5 separate regions of the Homo sapiens genome follow, and regions 1, 3, 4 and 5 are each linked to region 2. Evidence: promoter capture Hi-C in human tissues and cell types (Jung and others, 2019). All regions are on one chromosome and are shown on one strand. The core of a region is centred on a gene start or on the middle of the fragment in contact, and the rest is flanking DNA. Distances in the headings are between cores, read along the strand shown. Region 1 has its middle 230 kb from the start of ANKRD30A. Region 2 holds the start of GJD4 (gap junction protein delta 4). Region 3 has its middle 370 kb from the start of ANKRD30A. Region 4 has its middle 430 kb from the start of ANKRD30A. Region 5 has its middle 400 kb from the start of ANKRD30A.

Region 1 (2,700 bases), core at 150-2,649, 1.3 Mb after region 2:
TGGTGTTAAAGTCTCCCATTATTATTGTGTGGGAGTCTAAGTCTCTTTGTAGGTCTCTAAGGACTTGCTTTATGAATCTTGGTGCTCCTGTATTGGGCTAGCTCTTCTTGTTGAATTGATACCTTTACCATTATGTAATGGCCTTCTTTGTCTCTTTTGATCTTTGTTGGATTAAAGTCTGTTTTATCTGAGACTAGGATTTCAACCTCTGCCTTTTTTTGTTTTCCATTTGCTTGGTATATCTTCCTCCATCCCTTTATTTTGAGCCTATGTGTGTCTCTGCATGTGAGATGGGTTTCCTGAATACAGCACACTGATGGGTCTTGACTCTTTATCCAATTTGCCAGTCTGTGCCTTTTAATTGGAGCATTTAGCCCATTTACATTTCAGGTTAGTATTGTTATGTGTGAATTTGATCCTGTCATTATGATGCTAGCTGGTTATTTTGCTCATTAGTTGATGCAGTTTCTTCCTAGTCTTGATGGTCTTTACAATTTGGCATGTTTTTGCAGTGGCTGGAACTGGTTGTTCCTTTCCACATTTAGTGCTTCCTTCAGGAGCTCTTTTAGGGCAGGCCTGTTAGTGACAGAATCTCTCAGCATTGGCTTGTCTGTAAAGTATTTTATTTCTCCTTCACTTATGAAGCTTAGCTTTCCTGGATGTGAAATTCTGGATTGAAAATTCTTTTCTTTAAAAATGTTGAATATTGGCCCCCACTCTCTTCTGGCTTGTAGAGTTTCTGCCGAGACATCAACTGTTAGTCTGATGGGCTTCCCTTTGTGGGCAACCTGACCTTTCTCTCTGGCTTCCCTTAACATTTTTTCCTTCATTTCAACTTTGGTGAATCTGACAATTATGTGTCTTGGAGTTGCTCTTCTCGAGGAGTATCTTTGTGGCATTCTCTGTATTTCCTGAATGTGAATGTTGGCCTGCCTTGCTAGATTGGGGAAGTTCTCCTGGATAATATCCTGCAGAGTGTTTTCCAACTTGGTTCCATTCTCCCCGTCACTTTCAGGTACACCAATCAGATGTAGATTTGGTCTGTTCACATAGTCCCATATTTCTTGGAGGCTTTGTTCTTTTTATTCTTTTTTCTCTAATCTTCTCTTCATTCTTCATTTCATTCATTTCGTCTTCCATCGCTGATACCCTTTCTTCCAGTTGATCACATCGGTTACTGAGGCTTGTGCGTTCGTCAGGTATTTCTTGTGCCATGGTTTTCAGCTCCATCAGATCCTTTAAGGACTTCTCTGCATTGATTATTCTAGTTTTCCATTCGTCTAATTTTTTTTCAAAGATTTTAACTTCTTTGCCGTTGGTTCGAACTTCCTCCTTTAGCTCGGAGTAGTCTGATCTTCTGAAGCCTTCCTCTCTCAACTCGTCAAAGTCATTCTCCGTCCAGCTTTGTTCCATTGCTGGTGAGGAGCTGCGTTCCTTTGGAGGAGGAGAGGCGCTCTGATTTTTAGAGTTTCTGGTTTTTCTGCTCTGTTTTTTCCCCATCTTTGTGGTTTTATCTACTTTTGGTCTTTGATGATGGTGATGTACAGATGGGGTTTTGGTGTGGATGTCCTTTCTGTTTGTTAGTTTTTCTTCTAACAGTCAGGACCCTCAACTGCAGGTCTGTTAGAGTTTACTGGAGGTCCATTCCAGACACTGTTTGCCTGGGTATCAGCAGCGGTGGCTGCAGAACAGCAGATATTGGTGAACCGCAAATGCTGCTGCCTGATCGTTCCTCTGGAAGTTTTGTCTCAGAGGGGTACCCAGCCGTGTGAGGTTTCAGTCTGCCCATACTGGGGGGTTCCTACCAGTTAGGCTACTCGGGGGTCAGGGACCCACTTGAGGAGGCAGTCTGCCCGTCCTCAGATCTCAAGCTGCATGTTGGGACAACCACTTCTCTCTTCAAATCTGTCAGACAGGGACATTTAAGTCTGCAGAGGTTATTGCTGTCTTTTGTTTGTCTGTGCCCTGCCCCCAGAGGTGGAGCCTACAGAGGCAGGCAGGCCTCCTTGAGCTGTGGTGGGTTCCACCCACTTCGAGCTTCTGGGTCACTTTTTTTACCTACTCAAGCCTGAGCAATGGTGGGCGCCCCTCCCCCAGCCTTGCTGCCGCCTTGCTGTTTGATCTCAGACTGCTGTGCTAGCAATGAGCAAGGCTCCGTGGGCGTAGGACCCTCCGAGTCATGTGCGGGATATAATATCCTGGTGTGCCGTTTGTGAAGCCCGTTGGAAAAGCGCAGTATTAGGGTGGGAGTGACCTAATTTTCCAGGTGCTGTCTGTCACCCCTTTCTTTGACTAGGAAAGGGAATTCCCTGATCCCTCGCACATCCTGGGTGAGGCGATGCCTTGCCCTGCTTCGGCTCATGCATGTTGCGCTGCACCCACTGTCCTGCACCCACTGTCTGGCATTCCCCAGTGAGATGAACCTGGTACCTCAGTTGGAAATGCAGAAATCACTGTCTTCTGTGTCACTCACGCTGCAAGCTGTAGACTGGAGCTGTTCCTATTCAGCCATCTTGGCTCCACTCCTCCTATTTCTAGTTTTTTCTTAGGTGATGCCCTGTATGAGTGAAACACTTCAGACTAGCAGACTGGGCTGCACTGTTTCTGCGGATCAGTGATTTTAAAACACTGAGACCCCACTGAGTGTTGATCCTCTGGTCTCGTGAGAAGATGCAGCTTCATGTTGGATGTCCAGATCAG
Region 2 (2,700 bases), core at 99-2,598:
CGCGCAGGGCTAATTTATTCCACATTTGGGATGGGCTATTTCTATCACACAGCAAGAGTCAGTAATTGCTTTCCTGATATTTCATTTTTTTTTTAAAGCCAATACCATGAGCAGTCTATTAGGAGACAAATTCTCCTTTATTTTATACTTACACCCTGTGACTATTTCAATATTTTTACTTAACTACAATTTCTCAAATTTCCTTGCTCATGTCGAAGCATTTGACTAAAATATAGCAAAACCACTGTTCCTTTCAAGGGGGTCAAAACGTTTTCCGTGGATGGGAGCATGTCATGTGAGCAAAGATGAAAGTAGCTTTGTTGCACTCTTCTGGGAATCTTTCTAGGGATATTACTAAAGTCAAGAATAGATCAGAAATGAAGAAAAGATGGGGATATAAAGAATAGCTTTCATGGAAAATTGAAATCATTCCTTTTAAAGTTTACAATTTCCACCCTGATCATAGATCCCCAACCCTGCAGGATGGGTTCTTCCCAGATATGAAGGTGGCTGCAGCGATAGGATTTTGACGCAACTGTGATTGATGTCAGCAGGTCCAGACCGTGATATTTCATGACAGATTTAACAGACATTTATTAAGTAGATTCAATGGGAACAGCTCCAGGCTAGATGGGGCTGGGAGATACAAAGGGAAGATGTAATCTGTGAAGGTCGTAGAGGCCAATTAGGGATTGAAATCCCACGGATATGGGTTGTCGTACACCCACTTCACACCAGTTGCTCTTATTCTACACCATCATTTCACATAAGCCTCCCACAAATGGCAAGTGGAATGGCATGATTCTCCTTATTGCAAGATGAGGCTATCTGGAAGGATCCAATGACTTCCCCAGTGAGTAGGGGGCTGCCCCGGGCTTTGCACCCAGGCTTTTGTCTCCAAGCGAAGAGTTGTCACTCACTGCACAGGAAGCAGCAGGAGAATAACCAAGTCACGGTCTAAAGTTGGGACACCCAACTGAGTTTCAGATTTCTGCCTGCACCAATGACACAGGAATTCAGAATAAGGGCGAGATCCTTGTGGGTTCGTGTGATGGTGGCATGGCGATTCATGCTTGATTGAGAAGACAAAACGTGAACACTTTAAGGGCTTCTTGCACAAGTGAAGTGGTTGTGGAAATGTTTTCAAGGAGGAAATGCCTTTTTAATAGAGAAATTTACTTGGCTAGTTAGCAGAAGTTTTCTTTCTTGGGTTAAAAGTAGTTGCTGCTATTATATCCTGAAGCATCTGGCTGTCCTGGTGGGGACATATGAGCGCTGCCACAGGCCGGGAATATCCCAGGCGAGTAAGAATAGCCCACAATAAGAGATGACTGCTGCTTGCTCTGCTGGTCACTGCAGTTGTCAGGAATGTTTCGCCTCAGAGGCAAACGGCTTAGGGCCGTCTCAACTTGGAGACAGAAAAACCCACCTCCTACTCCTGGCTCAGACCTTTGCTTTCTTATCTCCAGCTCACACCTTTAAGTCTTATGTAGTTAAAGGACATTTATCCGCCTCCTTGGAGAACACAGCCCTCCAGTGTCTCCTGCAGCCTGGAGCCTGGGACATTCTGGAAGCATGGAAGGCGTGGACTTGCTAGGGTTTCTCATCATCACATTAAACTGCAACGTGACCATGGTGGGTGAGTATTGGGACCATCTCCAAACTCCTGCGCTGTTTTTATTTCCACTGCCATGGTGGAATTGAGTCCTTAAAGGGTCCAGGTATTTACTCATTTTCAGTGTGCAAGCACCAAGCTGAAAGTCCACCCACTCCCAAAAGAAAGGGCTGTGCCTTTCTGGAGGGAAGAGAGCTGAGGCTTCTAGTTTCTTTGAATGGTTCCGCGGTTCCTCCGTCATGTAAGGGAGTCTTGCGTTTGACATTGTTCTCTCACAGATCATCCTGTGCTGACACTGGGGTGCTGACTCCAAAGACCAAAGCAGGTGGAGGGGTGTTTGTGTGCAACCCTGGTGTGGCTACGTTACCAGGAAAAGGAACAGAACAACAAATGTTAATCAGAAGGTGATACCTTTAGGTTTTATTCTGGAAGCTTGGTTTTTTTTTTTTGTTTTTGGAGACAGAGTCTCACTCTGTTGCCCAGGCTGGAGTGCAGTGATGCAATCTCAGCTCACTGCAACCTCTGCCTCCCGGGTTCAAGTGATTCTCCTGCCTCAGCCTCCCGAGTAGCTGGGACTACAGGCGCCTGCCACCACGCCCAGCTAATTTTCTGTGTTTTTAGTAGAGACGGGGTTTCACCGTGTTAGCCAGGATGGTCTCGATCTCCTGACCTCGTGAGCCACCCGCCTTGGCTTCCCAAAGTGCTGGGATTACAGGCGTGAGTTACCACGCCTGGCCTGGAAGCTTAATTTTTAAGGAGTAGCCATTTCTCTTGTGCACTTTAAACCAAATCCCAAGTTTAGTTATTTTTTTTAACAAAGAAAATAATAGATTTTTGTTTAATGCAGACGACTCACATTTTCAGAGAGGTATGGGGGTCAGAAAAGGATGAATATATGCCGGAGATGCAGTTGATACTTTTCTGGCTCATTATTTTGTAGATTTAGACAAAACCAACTTGATGTTAAAAGTTCAACTCAATGACTCATCACATAATGATATTATTCTTTGTTTGACTGTCTTTACATATTTATTTTTGTTTTGTTTTTATGATGTCAGGCGATGTTTCTCTCATCACAAAACACA
Region 3 (2,700 bases), core at 96-2,595, 1.2 Mb after region 2:
TTACGTGTATATACACAGCTTCGTATACACACATTTATTTCCTTGCTCTATAAGCTAAGACGGTCTAGAACCAATGATATGCCAGCAGAAATGAGCATATCTAACACTTAAGTCTTCAATTCTTGAGTTTTTGTTTGTTTTGAAACAGTTTCGCTCTTGTTGCCCTGGCTAGAGTGCAATGGCACGATCTTAGCTCACTGCAACCCCTGCCTCCCGAGTTCAAGCAATTCTCCTGCCTCAGCCTCCCAAGTAGCTGGGATTACAGGCGCCCCCCACCACACAAAGCTAATTTTTGTATTTTCAGTAGAGACAGGGTTTCACTATGTTGGCCAGGCTGGTCTCAAACTCCTGACCTCAGGTGATCCACCCGCTTTGGCCTTCCAAAGTGCTGGGATTACAGGCATGAGCCACTGTGCCCAGCCTAAGTCTTGGTTTTTAATGACTCCAATCAAGCAAACCAGACTCCTTGGAGAAATGACTGATTCTAGAAATGGAAATAGAACAGGAAATAATACATGATCTGCCTGGAACATCTAGTTAGGCCAGAAAGTAAGGAAGTATAAAAACACCACCACCACCAAAACCCATAATGTAAACACTCCCAGTGGCCAAGGCTAGAACATTTGAGCAACAAAATAAATAAAGAAGTATTGGATTATAATCCAAAATATAAAATAAATATCTGTGAGCAAATAGTCATATAAGTACATTTTTGAATAAACAAATAATTGAGAGACGGGACAAATATCCCATGCAGAAGAATTCCAAATAATTTATGTAGACACTTAGCTTTCAAGGAAGTAGAACATAATTTCTTCCTCCTTAAGTGTTCTTTCCAAAAACAATACAGTATGAATAAGGGGCAAAAACAGTAGCTTTACAGGAGAAAAACCTGATGAGCACTACCTTAGACAAGTGATCAAGGTCAACATCAACAGGTGTAAGTCATGTTGATGAGTCTGAGCCTTGATGTGAGATGGTGAAAATGGCACTTCATCTCTGCAGTCTTTCTCCCTCAAACCCCAAACTCCAGTTTAAACATGAAGGGGAAAAAATCCAACATATTAAAAAAAAAAAAAAGTCAGTTTACAAAATTCCTGACCAGTACTCCTCAAAATTCTCAAGGTCATCAAAAACAAGGAGTCTGAGAAATTCTCGTCATCAAGAGGAGCCTAAGAAGATACTGACTAAATGCAGTGTGGTGGTGTCCTAGGTGGAACCCTGGAACAGAAGAAGATTAGATACAAGATAAGGAAGTCTGACTAAAGCAGGGGCTTTAGTTAATAATGTATAAAAATTGATAATGTAACAAATGTAGCAACACTAAAAATAAAGGAAACAGGGTAAGGGGGAAGGGTTATTATATTCATAATATTCATGTAAATTGAAAACTGTTCTTAAAAAGTTTGATAAAAAATGCATTTAGGGATAATTTGTTCTACTGTTTCTCCAAATACATTGTTGACCTAATATAATCAAAAGGGTCAGAATCTAATTTAAAGAGAGTTTATTCAAGTGTGACTTGAACCATTGGGAAACTCCAGCTTGAAAGGAGTCAGTGTTTTGAAGCAGGGAAGTTAAGAGTACATTTATATAGACAGAAACAGGAGGGGTTTTTTTTTGTTTTTCGTTTGTTGTTTTTTTTTTTTCTGAAACGGAGTCTCCCTCTGTTGCCCAGGCTGGAGTGCAGTGAGTGGCTAGATCTCAGCTCACTGCAAGCTTCGCCTCCCGGGTTCTCGCCATTGTCCTGCCTCAGCCTCCTGAGTAGCTGGGACTACAGGCGCCCGGCCACCACGCCTGGCTAATTTTTTGTATTTTTAGTAGAGACGGGGTTTCGCTGTGTTAGCCAGGATGGTCTCGATCTCCTGACCTCGTGATCCGCCCGCCTCGGCCTCCCAAAGTGCTAGGATTACAGGCGTGAGCCACCGCGCCCGGCCAACAGACAGGAGTTTTTAGCAGGACCACATCATTCACACAAGGGTGGCACATAGTTACCACTTTTGTACGGTAACGATGATTGGTTATATGCAGTGTTTCTCTTGAGGAAGGATATATTTACATTTTTTTTTAACAGAAAGTGTAGTAGTCGTGGGTTTTCTGTCTTCTAGTCTAAGCAAAACAACAGAGGGGAAGTTAATCACTAACAAAGATCATTAATTAAGAAGGCAGGAGGTTTTTGTCCCTGATGTCATTTAGTAACCGCATGTGACTCCGATCACAGCCATTTCTCTCTTAATGTGTTATTAGGGGTTCCAACAGCTTTTAAATTTCATTTATTTTCAGAATATCATGGGTTAGTTGTTCCTGAGGATATTATTAAGAATGCATGTGAGGCCAGGTGCGGTGGCTCATGCCTGTAATCCCAGAACTTTGGAAGGCCAAGGCGGGCAAATCACGAGTTCACAAGTTCGAGACCAGCCTGGCCAACATGGTGAAACCCCGTCACTACTAAAAATACAAAAAATTAGCTGGGCATAGTGGCAGACACCTGTAATCCCAGCTACTTGGGAGGCTGAGGTGGAAGAATCACTAGAACCGGGAAAGGGGAGGTTGCAGTGAGCCGAGATCGCACCATTGCACTCTAGCCCAAGCGACAGTGAGACTCCATCTCAAAAAAAAAAAAAAAGAATGCATGTGAGCCACTGAACTGTCTTCTAGGAAACTTTAATATGGATAAGGGAAATTATAAATTTCTAAGTG
Region 4 (2,700 bases), core at 110-2,609, 1.1 Mb after region 2:
CTCAGCCTCCCAAAGTACTGGGATTACAGGTGGGAGCCACTGCGCCCCGCCAGTGCAATGCAGTTCTAATGGGAGTTGATGTCAGGGACTCAGGGGCCTCTGGGCCAGGCATGCTCTTGGGCATATTCCTAGCCCAGACCTGTCCATTCCTGGAACTCTCTATCTGAGGCCTTGAGCAGAAGTCTTCTTCACTGGCCTCTGCTGAGAATTTATCCGAGAGAAAGGGGGAAAGCTTCAAGCCACTTTTTCCTACTCTGACTCAATACTCAGTACTTTCCACCCGTGCCCTTCCCTTTCTCCATCCTCCTGGTGGTCCCCAGTCGCAGGGTCTGTAATATTGCACTAGCCTTTTACTTGAGGCAATCTCCACATCATGCTGATCCACCTGGCCCTCAGCCATTGCACCAATCCATAGGGGAAGGTAGAGTAGGGCAGACCCAGCACTCTGTTTCAGACTCTTGGTGATACCATAAGAGTAAGGGATTAAAACCACTGCTCAGTGGCTTTCATTTCTGGTTTGTCACTGATACGGACAGGAGACAGGGAAAACTGAGTAGAAAGGAGCAGTTCCCAGGCAAAGGCCCCACCCTCAAGCCTGGATACCCTCGGCCCTACATGAGAACAAGCATTCCTGTTTTCACAACCCAAAAGTTGCCTTTTGTCCTGCCACACCCCCTATCCTGCACCCATGCATATATACCCTGAACCCCAGGCTCCAGAAGCCGACCAGTAAGCCACCAGATCAGCGATGGTTGGAGAAGGGATGCGGCAGAGAAAGAGAGAAGAGGAGGAACATCTAACACCCAGAGGAGTTTAGCGGGGGCCGTTGGAGAGGAGTCCAGCAGCTGAGTGGCCCAGCTCCGGCTCCGGAGGAAGATCGCCTTCCCTCTCCATCTCCCCATTGCGGCCCCCGATCCATCCGGCTGAAAGCCACCTCCACCACTCAATAAAACTTCGCATTCATCCTTCAAGCCCGTGTGTGACCCAAGTTTTCCGTGATGCTGGGCAAGACCTCGGAATAGAGAAAGCTGTCACACTGGCCCTCTGCCCTTGCCAAAAGGCAGAGGATTCATTGAGCTGACTAACACTCAAGCCTCTGCAGGCGGCAGAGCTGAAAGAGCTTTATAACGGGGGGGGGGTTGCAGGCACCCTCCTCAGACACTACCTACCGAGGAGCCAGAGCCCAAAGCGCTTGCCCCAGCCTCTGCGCCTGACTGTCTGCATCCTCTCCCTCCTGCCAAGGGGTTTGAGCAGGCGGCACCACTGAACAGGCAAGCCACACCCCTGCCGCACATCCTGCGTCCTGCCAGGGGAATCAGCGAACTCTCCCGCTTCATCACTTTACTTGGCTACTCTGACACCTGACAGCTTAGCTGTCTCCAACTCAGCTGAGCTCCTGACAAATAGACCCTTCCTGAGTTTTCAAAATTAGGTATGATGGTGCAAGTGAAAATTATAACACTGTATGATAGTTCGGTAAATGTTTGTACAGCAAATATTTAAGACAATTATAAATATAGGAGAGGAAAGGAAGAGAAATAGAGATAAGATTTCTACACTTCACTTAAAATGACAACACCAATAAAGTGTTTTATACATAAATTATTATAAATTATATAATTAATGTAATATTAGATTATATGTGGTATATATAATATAAAATCTTACACCTAGCGCACCTACAAAAAAACCTATATAAAAAGATACATGTAAAATCACTAGAGATAAATCACAATGGAATTCTTTAAAATGCTCAAGTGGCCGGGGGCGGTGGCTCACGCCTGTAATCCCAGCCTTTGGAGGCCGAGGCGGGCAGAACACAAGGTCAGGAGATCAAGACCATCCTGGCTAACACGGTGAAACCCCGTCTCTACTAAAAATACAAAAAATTAGCCTGGCGTGGTGGCGGGCACCTGTAGTTCCAGCTACTGGGGAGGCTGAGGCAGGAGAATGGCGTGAACCCGGGAGGTGGAGCTTGCAGTGAGCCGAGATTGCACCACTGCACTCCAGCCTGGGCGACAGAGCGAAACTCCGTCTCAAAAAAAAAAAAAAAAAAAAAAAAAAAGTTCAAGTAACTCACAGAAAGGCAACAAAAAAATCAATAAAATAAGAGAAGCAAGAAGCAGAAAGCACAAATAGAAAACAAAAAAATAAAATGGCAGACTTAAGCACTCATATATCAATAATCACATTAAGTGTAAATGGTCTAAGTACACCAAAGAAAAGACAGAACCTAGCAGAATAAATTAAAATATGACTTCCTCACAGTAAAACAAAAAACAATATGATCTAACTGTATACTGTCTATAAGAAACTCAAATGTGATAATAAAGATAGGTGCAAAGTAAAAATAGAAAAAATACATAGTATGAAAAATTAATCAAAAGAAATAAAATTCACTCTCTCTCTCTCTCTCTCTCTATATATATACATAATGTTTTTTTCAGGCAGGGTCTCACTCTGTCTCTAGGATGGAGTGCAGTGGCGCAATCTCAGCTCACTGGAACCTCCGACTCCCTGGTTCAAGTGATTCTCCTGCCTTAGCCTCCTGAGTAGCTGGGATTACAGGCACACGCCACCATGCCCAGCTAACTTTTGTATTTTTAGTAGAGACGGGGTTTCACCATGTTGGCCAGGATGGTCTCCATCTCCTGACCTCGTCATTCGCCTGCCTCGGCCTCCCAAAGTACTGGGATTACA
Region 5 (2,700 bases), core at 174-2,673, 1.1 Mb after region 2:
TAAAGTGTTAGCCACAGGAGAATAAATGATAACTCAAAATATATTAGGATTAAAAACTTTTATCAAAATATTCCACATGAGAGAGTGAAAAGATAGGCCACAGTGTGTTGTATACAAACTAAAAACTCATATCCAAAATAAAGAATACCTAAAAATTAATAAGATAAAGACAATGTAATTTTGAAGATAGCCAAACAACTTGAAAAGGTACTTCAAAGAATATGACTTCAACTATTTTATAAACATATGAAAAATGTCCTTTTGTTTTTTTTGAGACAGAGTCTCCCTCTGTCGCCCAGGTTGGAGTGCAGGGGCGCCATCTCGGCTCACTGCAACCTCCACCTCCTGGGTTCACGCCATTTCTCCTGCCTCAGCCTCCCCAGTAGCTGGGACTACAGGTGCCCACCACCACGCCCGGCTAACTTTTTGTATTTTTCGTAGAGACGGAGTTTCACCATATTAGCCAGGATGGTCTCGACCTCCTGACTCGTGATCCGTCCACCTCAGCCTCCCAAAATGCTGGGATTACACGTGTGAGCCACCGTGCCCGGCTGAAAAATGTCCATATTTAATAATCCTCAGGGAGATGCAAAGTAAAGTCACAATGTAATAGCACAAGACATTCCCTATAATGGCTAAAATAAAAAGACAATACAAAGTGCTGACAAAGATAAAGAGCAACAGGAATTCTCTCCTACACAACTGGTGGGAGTGTTAATTAATATAATGATTTTGAAAAACTCTTGAACAGTATCTACTAAAAGCTAAACATGGGCATCCCCTATGATCCAGCAGTTCCTCTCTCTCAGGCATATTCTCATGAATATGTACATATAGTTTTCAAAAGACATGCAAGAATGTTTATAGAAGCCACACTGCCAAACTGGAAACTATCCAACATTTATCAACATTAAAATATTGGAGTGTATTTACACAATGGAATTCTATGTAATGAAGTCAACAAACGATTGCTACACATACCAGGCATTTATCTCACAAGCAATTTTGACTGAAAGATGTCAGACAGAAAACAGGGATTCTGGTGTGATTCTATTTGTATACAATTCAGAGATAGGAAAACAAATCTATGCTGATAAAAGTGAGGATATTAGTTACCTGTGAGAAAGACAAATGTACCTATATGGGCAACTTTTGGGAGTCTGATATTTCTGATCTTGGTGCTGATTACATGTGTGTGATCCATTTCTGATAATTTATCAAGACATGACTTATTCCTTCTAGACTTATAAATATGATATACTTCAATAAAAAGTGATGTACTCTAAAAAATTTGCTTATGTTCTCTCTCATCAGTTTTTAAAGTAGAGTGGGTGGGATAAAGACAGTGTAGCACTACTGTCCAGAAAAAAAGAAAATGGTATATTTTGGTGTCTTTTAAAATAAAAAAAGTGTATCTTAAGGAGTGTAATAAAAACACGTCTCCATGTTTACAAAGCCTTCCATGACTTGGTCCTGTGTCGCTCGCTTGGTGAGTGTGAGCTAAGTAGAAAAAATAAACATAGCAAGTGTGAAGAAGTTCGGCTGTGAGGGCAGTGGAGTGTAGCTATGAGGGTTGGCTTTGTGAAAAAGGCAAGCTCTTCTTTCCATTATAATGGACCCCCAGTCCCATGCATGAGCTCTGGAGGATCATAGCATGTGTTGGTCACTGCCCTGTCCTTTGAGCAGTCTGGGGATGGTATTCGACTTGGTGCTTAACTGGTAACCTAATAAAAGTGATGCTGCAATCCAACATGTCAGTTGTTTCTATTTCCAGGAGAATCAAGGCTGCTGCCTCTGACAAAGAGATAAAAAGTGATGACTTACTCCAGATAAACTGCTGCAGTCTCTGGATCCACTGCGGTGCTGTCCTGAAGCACTTGAAGAAGAGCATGCTGGCTTTGTTCCACCCCATTTTCCCTCTGTTTCAACCAGTCCCTGAGTTGCAAAATGTAGTTCCTTCACCATTTTTTTTCAATAATCCAGTTATACTAAATACCCTCTGATTTTTAAAAACACTAGATTAACTTGAGTGTTAATAAAAAGAGGCTGCATGTAATTTCACCAGCACTCTCTTTCTGTCTTTTACTTTGTCCACATTCAGGATTCTCTGCACACATTTCTCTGTACAACTATTCTCCTTCTTCTATGATTAAGAGAACCTTCTCACTCTTTCTGTAGCCTACCACCTGTCTACACCCAACTCCTGGAGGCTCAGCTTCTAACCCAAACTGTCTCATCAAAGCTTGTTCCAAACAAAATCAGGTCTCAAAGGAAAATTATTTTGCCAGCAGCCAAAATAATAGCATTTTCTCCTTTTTGTAAAATATGCATCCAGTGTTAATTGCCAGGTTAAAATGTTTAACCTGGAAATATTACAAGTTCCTACTTTACCCAAATGCAACTCTGCTAAAATACCGAATGCCTTAAAAGAGATAAAAACCCAAGTAGCATTGAAAACCAATGATACACGTCAGAGTATTTTTAGAGTCAGGAGTATGTTTCACTGTCTTCAAGGCTGATAGATCTGAACTGCTCTGCACTGTTATTATAAACTATGCATGATTTGCCAACTGCCATCCCTGAAGTGGAAGAAGAGATACCTTGGAGCTCACTTCATACTCCTGCTGTGAGGTACACATTCTAACAGAAAGAAACTGGGCAACCCACCTGCCAGAGATGTAGAGAAACATAACAATTAAG

The links. Contacts are between HindIII fragments. The study calls those that stand out against the background at their distance.
Region 1: a fragment that was not itself captured here is called in contact with the fragment with the promoter of GJD4 in region 2 in 1 of the 25 tissues and cell types used here (dorsolateral prefrontal cortex).
Region 3: a fragment that was not itself captured here is called in contact with the fragment with the promoter of GJD4 in region 2 in 1 of the 25 tissues and cell types used here (lymphoblastoid cells).
Region 4: a contact is called between a fragment that was not itself captured here and the fragment with the promoter of GJD4 in region 2, in 1 of the 25 tissues and cell types used here (lymphoblastoid cells).
Region 5: a contact is called between a fragment that was not itself captured here and the fragment with the promoter of GJD4 in region 2, in 1 of the 25 tissues and cell types used here (dorsolateral prefrontal cortex).

What each region holds. Positions count from the first base shown.
Region 1 is chr10:36,896,549-36,899,248 of GRCh38, forward strand. No RefSeq gene overlaps it. Among named protein-coding and RNA genes, the nearest start is that of ANKRD30A, 230 kb to the right of the region's middle. The HindIII fragment of the contact is 3,375 bases long and covers 1-2,700 here.
Region 2 is chr10:35,603,993-35,606,692 of GRCh38, forward strand. GJD4 (gap junction protein delta 4) reads left to right here and starts at 1,349. Exons shown (of 2, transcript NM_153368.3): 1 at 1,349-1,639. The coding sequence starts at 1,576. It overlaps GJD4-AS1 (GJD4 antisense RNA 1), which reads right to left. Exons shown (of 2, transcript NR_199600.1): 2 at 570-1,973. The HindIII fragment of the contact is 12,098 bases long and covers 1-2,202 here.
Region 3 is chr10:36,754,781-36,757,480 of GRCh38, forward strand. No RefSeq gene overlaps it. Among named protein-coding and RNA genes, the nearest start is that of ANKRD30A, 370 kb to the right of the region's middle. The HindIII fragment of the contact is 4,887 bases long and covers 1-2,700 here.
Region 4 is chr10:36,691,688-36,694,387 of GRCh38, forward strand. No RefSeq gene overlaps it. Among named protein-coding and RNA genes, the nearest start is that of ANKRD30A, 430 kb to the right of the region's middle. The HindIII fragment of the contact is 3,989 bases long and covers 1-2,700 here.
Region 5 is chr10:36,720,229-36,722,928 of GRCh38, forward strand. No RefSeq gene overlaps it. Among named protein-coding and RNA genes, the nearest start is that of ANKRD30A, 400 kb to the right of the region's middle. The HindIII fragment of the contact is 5,063 bases long and covers 1-2,700 here.